Regions from separate parts of the Homo sapiens genome. Here region 1 is linked to region 2. Evidence: promoter capture Hi-C in human tissues and cell types (Jung and others, 2019). All regions are on one chromosome and are shown on one strand. Each heading gives the region's core, a stretch centred on a gene start or on the middle of the fragment in contact. The rest is flanking DNA. Distances are from core to core; before and after follow the strand shown. Region 1 overlaps ASXL2 (ASXL transcriptional regulator 2). Region 2 holds the start of KIF3C (kinesin family member 3C).

Region 1 (6,360 bases), core at 570-3,069, 150 kb after region 2:
TTTTCGAAAATTGTAAAAACAAAAGGATACATCCTCCATCATAAACTATAAATAGTATTTACACCCTGGGCTGTTCTGAAATAAATTGCAGTCATTTTATCACATGAATATGTCACTTTATATCTAACAGATAAGAACTTGAGACTAGTTGTATGCAATTTGGATATTCTGGCTTACAAAAAATAGAACAATTAAATCTACACATTAAGCCTACACACTGTTGACAGAATACACGCCCTGAATATTCTTTGAAACCATGCCTATTAATTCTTTACTGTAACTACTCATTACTACTTCTGTGCTTAGGCTAGATATACAATAGGTTTTTCCCTTCCATCAGCTGTGGCTGCCATTAGTGTTTACAGATGTGCTTTTATAGCATTAAGTGTCGGACTTAATGCCTTCCTTCTGAAGTAGCTATTGCCTTTAGTGCTTCCCACGCCCCCCCCCCCCACCCCCCTTTGGAGTTTCCTTAACCTGCTTTGCTCGTCTTATTAACTGTAATATCTTGACTCTTCTATCAGCTAATAGAGAAATAGAGTTTTTAGGAAAGAAGAGAAAAATAGTAAAATATTCAGTTCTTGAGACCCTATTCTCTGACTAGTTTTTCTTGTCTTTCCATTCATGAATAGAAGAGGGGAAATAAATTAGGAAGATTATTTGTTCGTGAATTTATTGTCCACAAATTTGGCATTTTATGAATTAGACCATTCATGAGTGATCCCAAGGGTTCATGATATATAATTAGTAATTGTGGTGAGTTTGAATCTTTCACACTATAAGATTAGTATAGGTGAGTAAGTTATATAGCTAATGAATGAGTGTGGCCAACTGCCTAGATTGTAAAGAACTCTGGGAACCACCCAGCAAAGATTATGCTCAATAAACATTTTAGAGACTGAGATTTTACCTCTGTCTGGGGGAGTCCTAATGACATCTGATTAGTACTAATTTGTTTATGAAGAAAATAATCTCTTTCATACAGTATTTAAGGTTATATGTTTTAGCTTACTTTATACTAAAAACCAATCAGAGCACCTATTTTTTTTCCCATATCTCTCCACATGCAAAAGTGTATATAGCAAGGGAAATAAAGTCAATATTCTCTACTACTTTTCAGCAGAAATCCTTATCCCTGCAGAGTAGATCATTTGATTATTTGCCAAGCTGAATTGCCTTGAAGTGATTTCATTAGAAAGAGCTTAGTTTTAGAATGAAGAACATTATTTGTATTGATAATATATCTAAGGTTGGAGGATTCCTTTGTGGTTAAGCCTGCATCTTCCTCCTCTTTTTCTTTTTAAACATTTTAAAAATATTTTTTGTAGAGATGAGGTCTCACTATGTTGCTCAGGCTCATCTTGAATTCTTGGGCTCAAGCAATCCTGCTTTGGCCTCGGCATGAGGCACTGTGCCCAGCCATCTTCCCTATCTGTTAGTTGCAATCTGCTTTCAAGCCCACAAACCTGGTAGGGATGTCAAGAAGGATTAGTAATGAAAAAAATGACAACAAAATGCTTGGATATTGACAGAAAAGAGTATTCTTATCCATTGTAATTCAGATCCATAAGAGCTCCATTATGTATCACAGGGAAGCTAATAAACCTTAAGTCCACAGCTGATGGCGTTATGATGGCTCCTTGAAATTGAAATGCATGGGAAGAATATTAAAGAATGGGAAGTATTCATTGTATCCACATTTAAATGCCCTAACAGTTTTACTCTGTTACATAATCAAATTACTGCAACTGTTTTCTGAAGTAGTTTAGACTGTTTAGCTAAATTTGTTTATCTTTAGACATTTTGATATGATATTTTTGGCTAATTTATAAATTTTAATGAAGAAATTAATGAGGGGGTTACTAATTTGGGGAATTGTGGATATTGCTGGGATGGGAAGGGACAGTTTAATTTTTGGTTTTATTGTTGCTTTGTAAGAAAAATTAAAAGCTTTTTTTTTCCTTCTTTCATTTTCCTGCACTGCATTCCAACTCCAGAAGGTAAGAAGTATTACTTTATTCTAAAGAAGTATTATGCAATTATAAAGCACACTTTTATAAATTTAATTGAACTTACCTTTGGATGCATGAGTTTTACTTTATAAAACTAAATAATTAGTCCAGAAACTAAGTAATATCGATATTATTATGTTAGTGTTTATTCGTTAAGTGTGCTTTGTTTGGTTCTTGCAGTTTGTAATTATTGTTTGATCATAAGTTTAGAAATCCGATCTACATTAAGGTTTATTAAAATCAACATTTGACTTATAAAAGCGTTGGGATGCCAAGTATTCTGCAGAGTAATAATGAAAGTATTTAGTAGACTGGAAACATGTATATTAACATTTGCTTTATGGCTGTAAGATTGAAAATGTATGTTTGTGCTCTTAATTTAGATAAAATATTGGTAAATCGGCTGGGCATGGTGGCTCACACCTGGTAATCCCAGCACTTTGAGAGGCCGAGGTGGGTGGATCACTTGAGGTCAGGAGTTCGAGACTAGCCTGACCAATATGGTGAAACTGCATCTCTACTAAAAAATCCAAAAATTAGCTGGGTGTGGTGGCCGGCGCCCGTAATCCCAGCTACTCGGGAGGCTGAGACAGGAGAATTGCTTGAACCCACAAGGTGGAGGTTGCAGTGAGCCGAGATCATGCCACTGCACTCTAGCCTGGGCAACACAGCAAGACTCCGTCTAAAAAAAAAAAAATTGGTAAATCCTTTAGGGGCATGATACTTAAAACCAGGGCAGAATGGGTTAAAAATCAGTCTGGATCCTTTACTGAATTGACTTTTTGTGTGTGGGCATGGCCTTTTAGATTCACCTCCACTATAGCAGTTCCCGTGTTACACGCCTGTGAGACCTGAGGGCAACAGTCGTATTGCCTGTGAGACTTGAGGGCAACAGTCATGCCCATGTATTTTCATGTTACTTGGACATGGCATGCTTGGGTTATAATTAGAGCGTAGTTAGTCTTTTTAACTCTAGTTATATTTGTAGTCCATTAAGTTCATTTGTAAGAACCTGTTTATTGTAAGCAAGAGTTTGTGGATGAAAGCTTAATTAAGGTCTTACAAAGTTAAAATTATAATTAAAAAATAAAATAGGTATATTTTGTTTTGTGTTATGTTTGTTTGAAGGGAGCATGTATTTGATTTGTTCTTATTTATTTATTTATTTTTTTGGAGACAGAGTCTCACTCTGTCACCCAAGCTGGAGTGGAGTGGCATGGTCTCGGCTCACTGCAACCTCTGCCTCCCAGGTTCAAGTGATTCTTCTGTTTCAGCCTCCCTTGTAGCTGGGATTACAGGTGCCTGCCACCAACCCCGGCTACTTTTTGTATTTTTAGTAGAGACGGGGTTTTACCATGCTGGCCAGGCTGGTCTTGACTTCCTGACCTCAAGTGATCTGCCCGCCTTGGCCTCCCAAAGTGCTGGGATTACAAGCGTGAGCCACTGCGCCTGGTCATTGATTGGGTTCTTTAAGTGCAAATGATAGGAACCAAATGTGAATAACTTAAGCAAAACAAGATTTATTTAAAGAATATGGGAGCAGAGGCAAGACTCAGACTCAAAGGCAAGAAACGGGCTCTGAAATTAGGAGAAGGAAGGCAGCTTCAGAGATCAGGTAGATAGAACTAATGCATAGTCTCATCAAGACACTGCAGCTGGGCTAAATTAGTCATTGTCTACTCTGCTCAAGGTTAAACTTTAAGGGAAGAGTGAACTTGGTTGGCCCAGTGCCCAGGGATGGTGAGATATCTTGATGGACAGTCTTACCAAGACTATTTCCAGTAGGGGAGGGCATAGTTCCCCAAAGCAAAATTAAGCTTTTTTTTTTTTGAGACAGGGTCTTGCTCTGTTGCCCAGGCTGGAGTGCAGTGGTGCAATCTCAGCTCACTGCAACCTCTGCCTCCTGAGTTCAAACAATTTTCCTGCCTCAGCCACCTGAGTAACTGAGATTACAGGCGCACGCTACCACGCCCAGCTAATTTTTTGTATTTTTAATAGAGATGGGGTTTCACTGTGTTGGTCAGGCCGATCTCAAACTCCTGGCCTCAAGTGATCTGCCCACCTCAGCCTTCCAAAGTGCTGGGATTACAGGCATGAGCCACCATGCCCAGCCAAAATTGAGCATTCTTTGCAGAAGAAGAGGGAATGGATATTGGCCAGGAATAAACAACAGCTGTCCATTGCTCACTATAGAAAATTAAAGTACAACAGAAAAATGTAAGCCATAAGCAGTTGTAGGAAGTAACCTTTTATGCAGATTCTCCTAATGGTAACATTGTACAAAACCATAGTGCAGTGTCACAGCGAGAATATTGTTTCTGATATAATCCACCTGGTTTTACTGGTACCGGGGTGTGTGTATGTGTGTATAGGGTGCTATGTGGTTTTATCACGTGTATAGATTCATGTACCTACCACCACACAAGATACAGAATACTTTCAACAAATATCCCTTGTGTTCCCCTTTTAAAACCACATGTACTTCCCTAGTACCCCTTGCCCCCCTTCCTTATACTAGTCCGTCCTACATTTCTATAATTTTGTCATTTCAAGTGTTTAATGGAATCATAGAGTATGTAACCATCTGGGATTGGCTCCCCCCGCAGCCCCCATTCATTGTATGTCTCTGGAGAGTCCTCCAAGTTATTGTGTTCATAGTTCATTCTTTTTTATTGCCGAGTAGTATTCTTTGACATGGACGTGCGACCGTTTCTAACTGTTTATCCGTTGCATGATATCTGAATTGTTTCCAGGCTTTGGCTATTAAAAATAAAACTTCTATGAACATTTGTGTAAATGTTTTTGTATGGGCATACATTTTCCATTCTCTGGGATAAATGTACAGAAAGTGCTGTTGCTGGGTTGTGTGGTAAGTGCATGTTTAATTTTAAAGACACCTTGAAACTGTAAATGAATTTCTTGTAAACTGCATAGTTTAGAATTTTTTTTTTTTTGGCCCATGCTGCCAATCCTTGCCTTTTAATTTGTGTGTTTACACCATTTATATTTAAAGTAATTGTTGATAGGTGAGTTTGCCTTTTTGTTTTTTTGTTTTCTGTTTCCTCTATTTCTCATTCCTCTGTTTCTCTTTTCTTGACTTCCTCATGGATCATATTTTAGGATTCTGTCTTGATTTATTTATAGTATTGTATTTCTTTGTATGTCTTTACATGCTTTTCTTAACTGTTTCAACTGGGTATTACAATATATACACGTGATTTATCACAGTCTGCTGATAATCATTTTACCACTCTAAGTGAAGTGTGGAAACCGTACTTCCATTTAGATTCTTGAGTATGAGATGGTATTAACATTTGTGTTCCAGTCATGAAATGTGATTTATAAAATTTATGAGAAGCATAGTCTGTGGTATATACCTATTCCTGTTCTTTCTGTTTTTTCTTCCTGGTGCTACAGGATTGCTTCTTTTATCATTTCCATTCTATTGAATGACTTCCTTTAGTCATTCTTTAAGAATAGTTCTACTTCTCTTAGTAAACTACTTTTAGTTTTACTTAGTCTGAAGCTGTTTCATCAGATATAGAATTCACAATTGACAGTTCTTTTCATTCAGCACTAGTGAAATGTCATGCCACTTCCTTCTGGCCTATGTGGTTTTAGGCGAGAAATCTATTGTCATTTGAATTGGTGTTTCCCTGTAGTAATGTGTTGTTTCTCTCTGCTTTCAGGACTTTTTCTTTGGATTTAGTTTTCAGAAGTTTAATTATGATGTATCTTGGTGGACTTATTTAGATTTATCCTATTTAGATTCACTGAGTTTCTTGAATCTGTAGGTTTATTTCTTCATTTTTCTTTATTACTTTTTCTTTTTCTTTTTAAATCCTGTTACATCTTCAGGTTTTTTGTTTTTTGAGACAGGGTCTCATTTTGTTGCCCAGGCTGGAGTGCAGTGGTGCGATCTCAGCTCACTGCAGCATCAGCCTCCTGGGCTCAAGCAATCCTCCCACCTTAGCCTCCTGAGTAGCTGGGACCACAGGTGTGCACCACCATGCCTATCTAATTTTTGCATTTTTTGTAGAGGCAGGGTTTCATCATGTTGCCCAGCGCAATACCTGAGCTCAAACAGTTTGCCTGCCTTGCCCTCCCAAAGTGCTGGGATTACAGGCCTGTGCCATTGTGCCTGGCCTGTGTTTATTTCTTTAACCAAATAAGAGAAGTTTTCAGCTGTTAATTCTTTGAATACTCTTTTTTTTTTTTTTTTTGAGACGGAGTCTCACTGTGTCACCTAGGCTGGAGTGCAGTGATGTGATCTCTGCTCACTGCAACCTCTGCCTCCCAGGATCCAGCAATTCTCCTGCCTCCCGAGTAGCTGGGATTACAGGTGTGT
Region 2 (6,158 bases), core at 2,739-5,238:
GAGCTAGGTAATATTTTTGGAGGGGAGAATAATGAGTTCAGTGTGAACAAGTAGAAATTCAGGTACCTGGAGAGCCACCAAAGTGGCTCTGTCCATTACAGAGTCGGATATAGAGGTTTAGAACTCAGAAGAGAGGTCTGGACTGGAGATACAAATCTAGGAACTATATAGACAATAATGGAAGCCATAAGCTATAATGACACTAGAGGGTGGCACTGGAACTCACTGATGTCCTTGGTAAGAGAGGTCTCTATTGCGTAGTGGGAGGAGAAGCCATATAAGTTTGTTTTTTTAATTGAGATGGGGCTGGTCTCGAACGCCTGGCCTCAAATGCTCTTTCCACCTCGGCCTCCCGAAGTTCTGGGATTACAGTGTGAACCACCGCACTGGGCCAGTCATGTGAGATTGAGCAGTGGAATGAATAGAAGCTGAGGCTATGTAGACAGAAACAGACACAGTTAGGAAGACTGAGTGCAGTGGCTCATGTCTGTAATCCCAGCACTTTGGGAGACCAAGGTGTGAGAGTCACTTGAGTCCAGGGATTTGAGACCAACCTCAGCAACAGAGTGAGACCTGGCTAATGTTAAAAAATATTGTTTTTTGTTTGTTTGTTTTTGTTTTTTTGAGACAGAGTCTTGCACTGTCACCCAGGCTGGTGCAATCTCGGCTCACTGCAACTTCCACCTCCCGGGTTCAAGGGATTCTCCTGCGTCAGCCTCCCAAGTAGCTGGGATTACAGGTGCCCACCACCATGCCCGGCTAATTTTTTGTATTTTTAGTAGAGACAGGGTTTCATTATGTTGGTCAGGCTGGTCTCGAACTCCTGACCTTGTGATCCCCCTGCCTTGGCCTCCCAAAGTGCTGGGATTACAGGTGTGAGCCACCGCGCCCGGCCTAAAAAAATATTGTTTTTAATTATCCAGGTGTGGTGGCATGCAACTGTAGTCCCAGCTATTCGGGAGGCTAAGGCAGGAGGATAGCTTGAGCTCAGGAGTTTGAGGCTGCAGTGAGCCATAATCATACCACTGCACTCCAGCCTGAGTGACAGAATGAGACCCCTTCTCAAATAAATTAATTGAAATAAAAACAAAGTTAGGACATTTCGGGCAGAGGAGCAGCATGAGCAAACACAAGGAGACACAAAAAAGTGGGGTGTGTTTGGGGGACTTAAGCTAATCAGAGTGGCTGGAGACTTGAGTATGTAAGAGGAAGGAAAAATGAAGACAGCGGTGAAAATGGAGACGCTGAAGTGAACAGCCTTGAATGCAAAGGACAAGAGAAAAGAAAACTGCTATTTCTGGAGTGCCTCCTATGTCGTAGGAGTTTTTGCATACATTATCTCACTTAATCCTGATGTGTAAGGTAAGCCCTCTTTTTTTTTCAGAGACAGGTTCTCACTCTGTTACCCTAGGCTAGAGTGCAGTGGTACAATCATCGCTCACTGCAGCCCTGAACTTACGGGCTTAAGCGATCCTCCTACCTCAGCCTCCTGAATAGCTGGGATTACAGCTTGAGCCACCACACCTGGTCAATGTAAGCATTCTTATCCTCATTTATTCCACTGAAAAAATAGCTGTTCAGAGAAGTTAAATAATTTCCCCAGGATCACATATCTTTTTTTGTGTGTGTGAGATGGAGTCTTGCTTTGTCGCCAGGCTGGAGTGCAGTGGCGCCATCTAGCCTCACTGCAATCTCTGCCTCCTGGGTTCAAATTATTTTCCTGTCTCAGCCTCTCAAGTAGCTGGGACTACAGGCGTGCACCACCATGCCCAGCTAATTTTTGTATTTTTAGTAGAGATGAGGTTTCATGATGTTGGCCAAGATGGTCTCGATCTCTTGACCTCATGATCCACCCGCCTCGGCCTCCCAAAGTGCTGGGATTATAGGCGTGAGCCACCGCGCCTGGCCTAGGATCACACATCTTGTAAGCAACGCGATTCCAATCTCCCTCTCACACAAGAGGATCTGGGTAAGTCCCCTGCCAGGTGGTGACATCAAGTGGGGAGAACAGGGTGAGAATCCCTTTTATCCAGCGCTGTAGTGTCAGATACATTAGCCTAAGCAGAGAAAGGGTATTCAAAACCCAAAGCCGAATGCAACCAGAAAATAGTTGAAGAACTAAAGGCTCCATCCAGAAATCATGTTGTGAGAGCCAAGAGGGGTTAGTCTACGGAGCCAAAACCCCACCCCGTAATTGGTCCAAAAGCCATGTTAATCATAAGCAGTGGAGCTTAATCAAGGAGAGGGTGGAGGGAGGCCAGGGAGCTTCAGAAGCGGGCAAGCTCTCAGCTAAGTCTCAAGCCTCTAGTCCAGCTCACGCTAAAGTTCTGGGATGGGGAAGAGTTAAGGAGGTAAATTTTGTTGAGTTGGAAAACTAAACAATTGGGTCCTCTAGAGGATAACATGCTTGGAAATGTTTTGTGGAAAGACTCTTCTGGTGCCTCTGTGAAGAAGGGTCTCCAGGTTTCAGATAACAGCACCTCTCAATCTGGTTCTCATATGGAGAGTAAAGACAGACAGCTTGGGCTCAGTCCACAGACTCAACTGCCCTCTGCAGAGTGGACCATGGATAGGACTCTGGCTTGGTCCTTGGCCTTGTGGAATTACACTTTATTTGTATCCTACAGGAAAAAAAAAAAAGATTAAGACTCCCATAGAGGAACACCAAGCACAGACATGGTCTATCCAGGATACTCAAGGAAGCAGGAGCTGTCAGGCAATCCAAGCCAGGGCAGGACTTCTCATGGTACAGTACTTCATGATTCATTATTTCATTTGAGCCTCCCAACCATTCCATGAAGTAGTTGTTAATTATTTCTTTCCCGCCTCGAATTTTTAAAAAAATAAATGAGGAAACTAAGGCTGGAGCAAGGGGAGTGACTGCTCAAAGCCACTCCATTGGATGGCCATCAGAACTGGAACTTCAATCCAGGTTTTGTCTTAGGTAAATTCTGTGCCTCTTTCACTATAGAAAAAAAAAAATTGCTAAGGGAAGGCTTCGTGGAGGAGGAGGTGCTTGAACTGCCCAAGTGGCAGGGCACTAAGTGCCGAAGGGTGACCAGGCCTCTGGGCAAAAGCACAAAGATGCTGCACAGCAAAGCCAGTTAAAGAAACAAAACACGGTTCCGGGAATGTGCACTGCTTGAGGACAGGAAGGACCCAGATCCTAGAATGGGGCCTGGGGCTCAGCAGGCGCTGGATAACTGAAGAAATGGCTGTCTGGAACACAGATTTTTCTATAGAGGAGTAGTGGCGGTGAGGCTGCGAAGGCGGAAGATGGAGAGGCTTTCACACAAGGAAGGCGGTGGAGGAGGAGCGAGGGGGCTCCCGGGTGCTTGTGCGGACATAAGGTGCGAGAGAATCAGCTGGAAGGTGGGCTCCAGCAGAGAGAAGAGGAAGGCCAGAAGTAGACCGGGACAGGGGGAGGAAAGGACAGAGTCAAGGAACATTTAGGAGTTCGGTTCCCGGAGGCCTGGCGACACCCTGACGGGGAGGGGTGACGCGCACCCATTTGCAGGCAGAAAGGCAGGAGCAGGGGGGTGTCCGAGGATGGTGGCTCGGAGGGACCAGGCATAGGTGGTGCAAGCTCAGCAGTCACTCAAGGGGTGGCATGCGGATGAGGGAGGCGCCTCCCGGACTGGGGGACCGGGAAAGGCATTAGCAACCTGCCAGAACCCGGTTAACAAAGGCAGGACTACAATTCCCGGCATGCTCGGGCTCGGTGGGGTGACGGCGGGCGGTGGCTGCGCTGCACCCGACTGGTGGGCGCAGGACCTGGGTCGGCACCGGAGCCTGTCATCCCGGAGCGGTCGGCGGGGGTGCAGAGACGGCGATGCGCCCCTGTCCCCCGCACCCGGGCCGCTCCGGGCTCGCGCCTCCCGCCCCGCGGCCCCGCCCCCTGCCCCACCCCAGTCGGGAGGCTTAGCTGGGGCCGCAGCGCGGCGGCAACATCACTCTCGCTGCCGCTGCTCCGCCCCATCCCCTTCTGTTTTTCTCTCTCATTCTCCAGTGGCGGCGGCGGGGAAGGCGGAGGCAGAGGCAGCAGCAGCCGCGCTGGCTGCAATGAATGATCCCCCAGCTTGGGGGGAGGACTCCAGGTGAGCCTCTGCCCTCGGGAGGCCCGGGACCCCCGGCCGCCCACGACCGGCAGCCCACGCTATGGATCCCTAGAGGAAGGAGGAGAAGACAGCTCGCCGCCCACCCCCATCCCATTTTCCTCTTCCTTTATCTCATTGTTGCCGAAGCTGTTTACGGCAGCGCTCCCTCTGCTCCTGCATGGGGCGGGCTCCGGGCACGGCTGCTCGGCAGGCGCTGCTCCCGCGGCGACTGGGGGATTCTGCCTAATTCACCTCCCAGCCGGTGCAGAGAGGACCGGAGAGCGGTGGAGGCCCGGACTGCAGCAGCGTTGGGGCCACCTCCCAGCGTCCCCACCCTAGGAGGCTGCATGCGGATTGAAGAGCTGCGCCTGGGGGCTGGGCCGGCCCCGCTGATCCCGACCTAGCGAGCAGGATAGCAGGACCGCCCAGGCTGCGGAGGGGCTCGGGGGCAGGAAGGTCAGAGCAGCAAGATGGCCAGTAAGACCAAGGCCAGCGAGGCCCTCAAGGTGGTGGCCCGGTGCCGCCCCCTCAGCAGGAAGGAGGAGGCTGCTGGTCACGAGCAGATCCTGACCATGGACGTGAAACTGGGCCAGGTGACCCTGCGGAACCCCCGCGCCGCCCCGGGGGAGCTGCCCAAGACCTTCACCTTTGACGCCGTGTATGATGCCAGCTCCAAGCAGGCCGACCTGTATGACGAAACCGTGAGGCCCCTGATAGACTCCGTGCTCCAGGGTTTCAATGGCACGGTGTTTGCCTATGGCCAGACGGGCACTGGCAAGACCTATACCATGCAGGGGACCTGGGTGGAGCCCGAGCTGCGCGGGGTCATCCCGAATGCCTTTGAGCACATCTTCACCCACATCTCCCGCTCCCAGAACCAACAGTACCTGGTCCGGGCCTCCTATTTGGAGATCTACCAGGAAGAGATTCGAGACCTGCTCTCCAAGGAGCCGGGCAAGAGGCTAGAGCTGAAAGAGAACCCCGAGACTGGCGTCTACATCAAGGACCTCTCCTCCTTCGTCACCAAGAATGTCAAGGAGATTGAGCATGTGATGAACCTGGGGAACCAGACCCGGGCTGTGGGCAGCACCCACATGAATGAGGTCAGCTCCCGCTCCCATGCCATCTTCATCATCACTGTGGAGTGCAGCGAACGTGGCTCTGATGGCCAGGACCACATCCGAGTGGGCAAGCTCAACCTCGTGGACCTGGCTGGCAGCGAGAGGCAGAACAAGGCAGGCCCCAACACAGCGGGAGGGGCAGCCACACCATCCTCGGGTGGCGGTGGTGGCGGTGGAGGCAGTGGTGGTGGTGCTGGTGGAGAGAGGCCTAAGGAAGCCTCCAAAATCAACCTCTCATTATCTGCCCTGGGCAACGTGATTGCTGCCCTGGCGGGCAACAGGAGCACCCACATTCCCTACCGGGACTCCAAGCTGACCCGGCTGCTCCAGGACTCCCTGGGGGGGAATGCCAAGACCATCATGGTAGCCACACTGGGGCCAGCTTCTCACAGCTACGATGAGAGCCTCTCCACCTTGCGCTTTGCCAACCGAGCCAAGAACATCAAGAACAAGCCCCGGGTGAACGAGGACCCCAAGGACACACTGCTGCGGGAATTCCAAGAGGAGATTGCCCGCCTGAAGGCCCAGCTGGAGAAGAGGGGGATGCTGGGGAAGCGGCCCCGGAGGAAGAGCAGCCGCAGGAAGAAGGCCGTGTCCGCCCCGCCTGGGTACCCTGAGGGCCCAGTGATTGAGGCCTGGGTGGCAGAAGAGGAGGATGACAACAACAACAACCACCGCCCGCCCCAGCCCATCCTGGAGTCAGCCTTGGAGAAGAACATGGAGAATTACCTGCAGGAACAGAAGGAGCGGCTGGAGGAGGAGAAGGCAGCCATCCAGGATGACCGCAGCCTGGTGAGCGAGGAGAAGCAGAAGCTGCTGGAGGAGAAGGAGAAGATGCTGGAGGACCTGCGGCGGGAACAGCAGGCCACAGAGCTGCTTGCGGCCAAGTACAAGGTAAGGGCCCCAGAGGAGCTGGGCACTCGAGATGTCCCCGCAGGGG

What was found. The method cuts DNA at HindIII sites, captures the fragments that hold promoters and counts their contacts. A contact is called where the count stands out against the background at its distance.
Region 1: a fragment that was not itself captured here is called in contact with the fragment with the promoter of KIF3C in region 2 in 1 of the 25 tissues and cell types used here (stomach).

The regions. Positions count from the first base shown.
Region 1 is chr2:25,831,178-25,837,537 of GRCh38, reverse strand. It overlaps ASXL2 (ASXL transcriptional regulator 2), which reads left to right. Exons shown (of 13, transcript NM_018263.6): 3 at 1,998-2,000. Among named protein-coding and RNA genes, the nearest start is that of ASXL2, 44 kb to the left of the region's middle. The HindIII fragment of the contact is 3,251 bases long and covers 194-3,444 here.
Region 2 is chr2:25,980,327-25,986,484 of GRCh38, reverse strand. It overlaps KIF3C (kinesin family member 3C), which reads left to right and starts at 3,988. Exons shown (of 8, transcript NM_002254.8): 1 at 3,988-6,112. The coding sequence starts at 4,568. RefSeq lists silencers at 3,740-3,909, 4,050-4,209 and enhancers at 4,199-4,708, 4,709-5,217, 5,727-6,158. The HindIII fragment of the contact is 11,133 bases long and covers 1-6,158 here.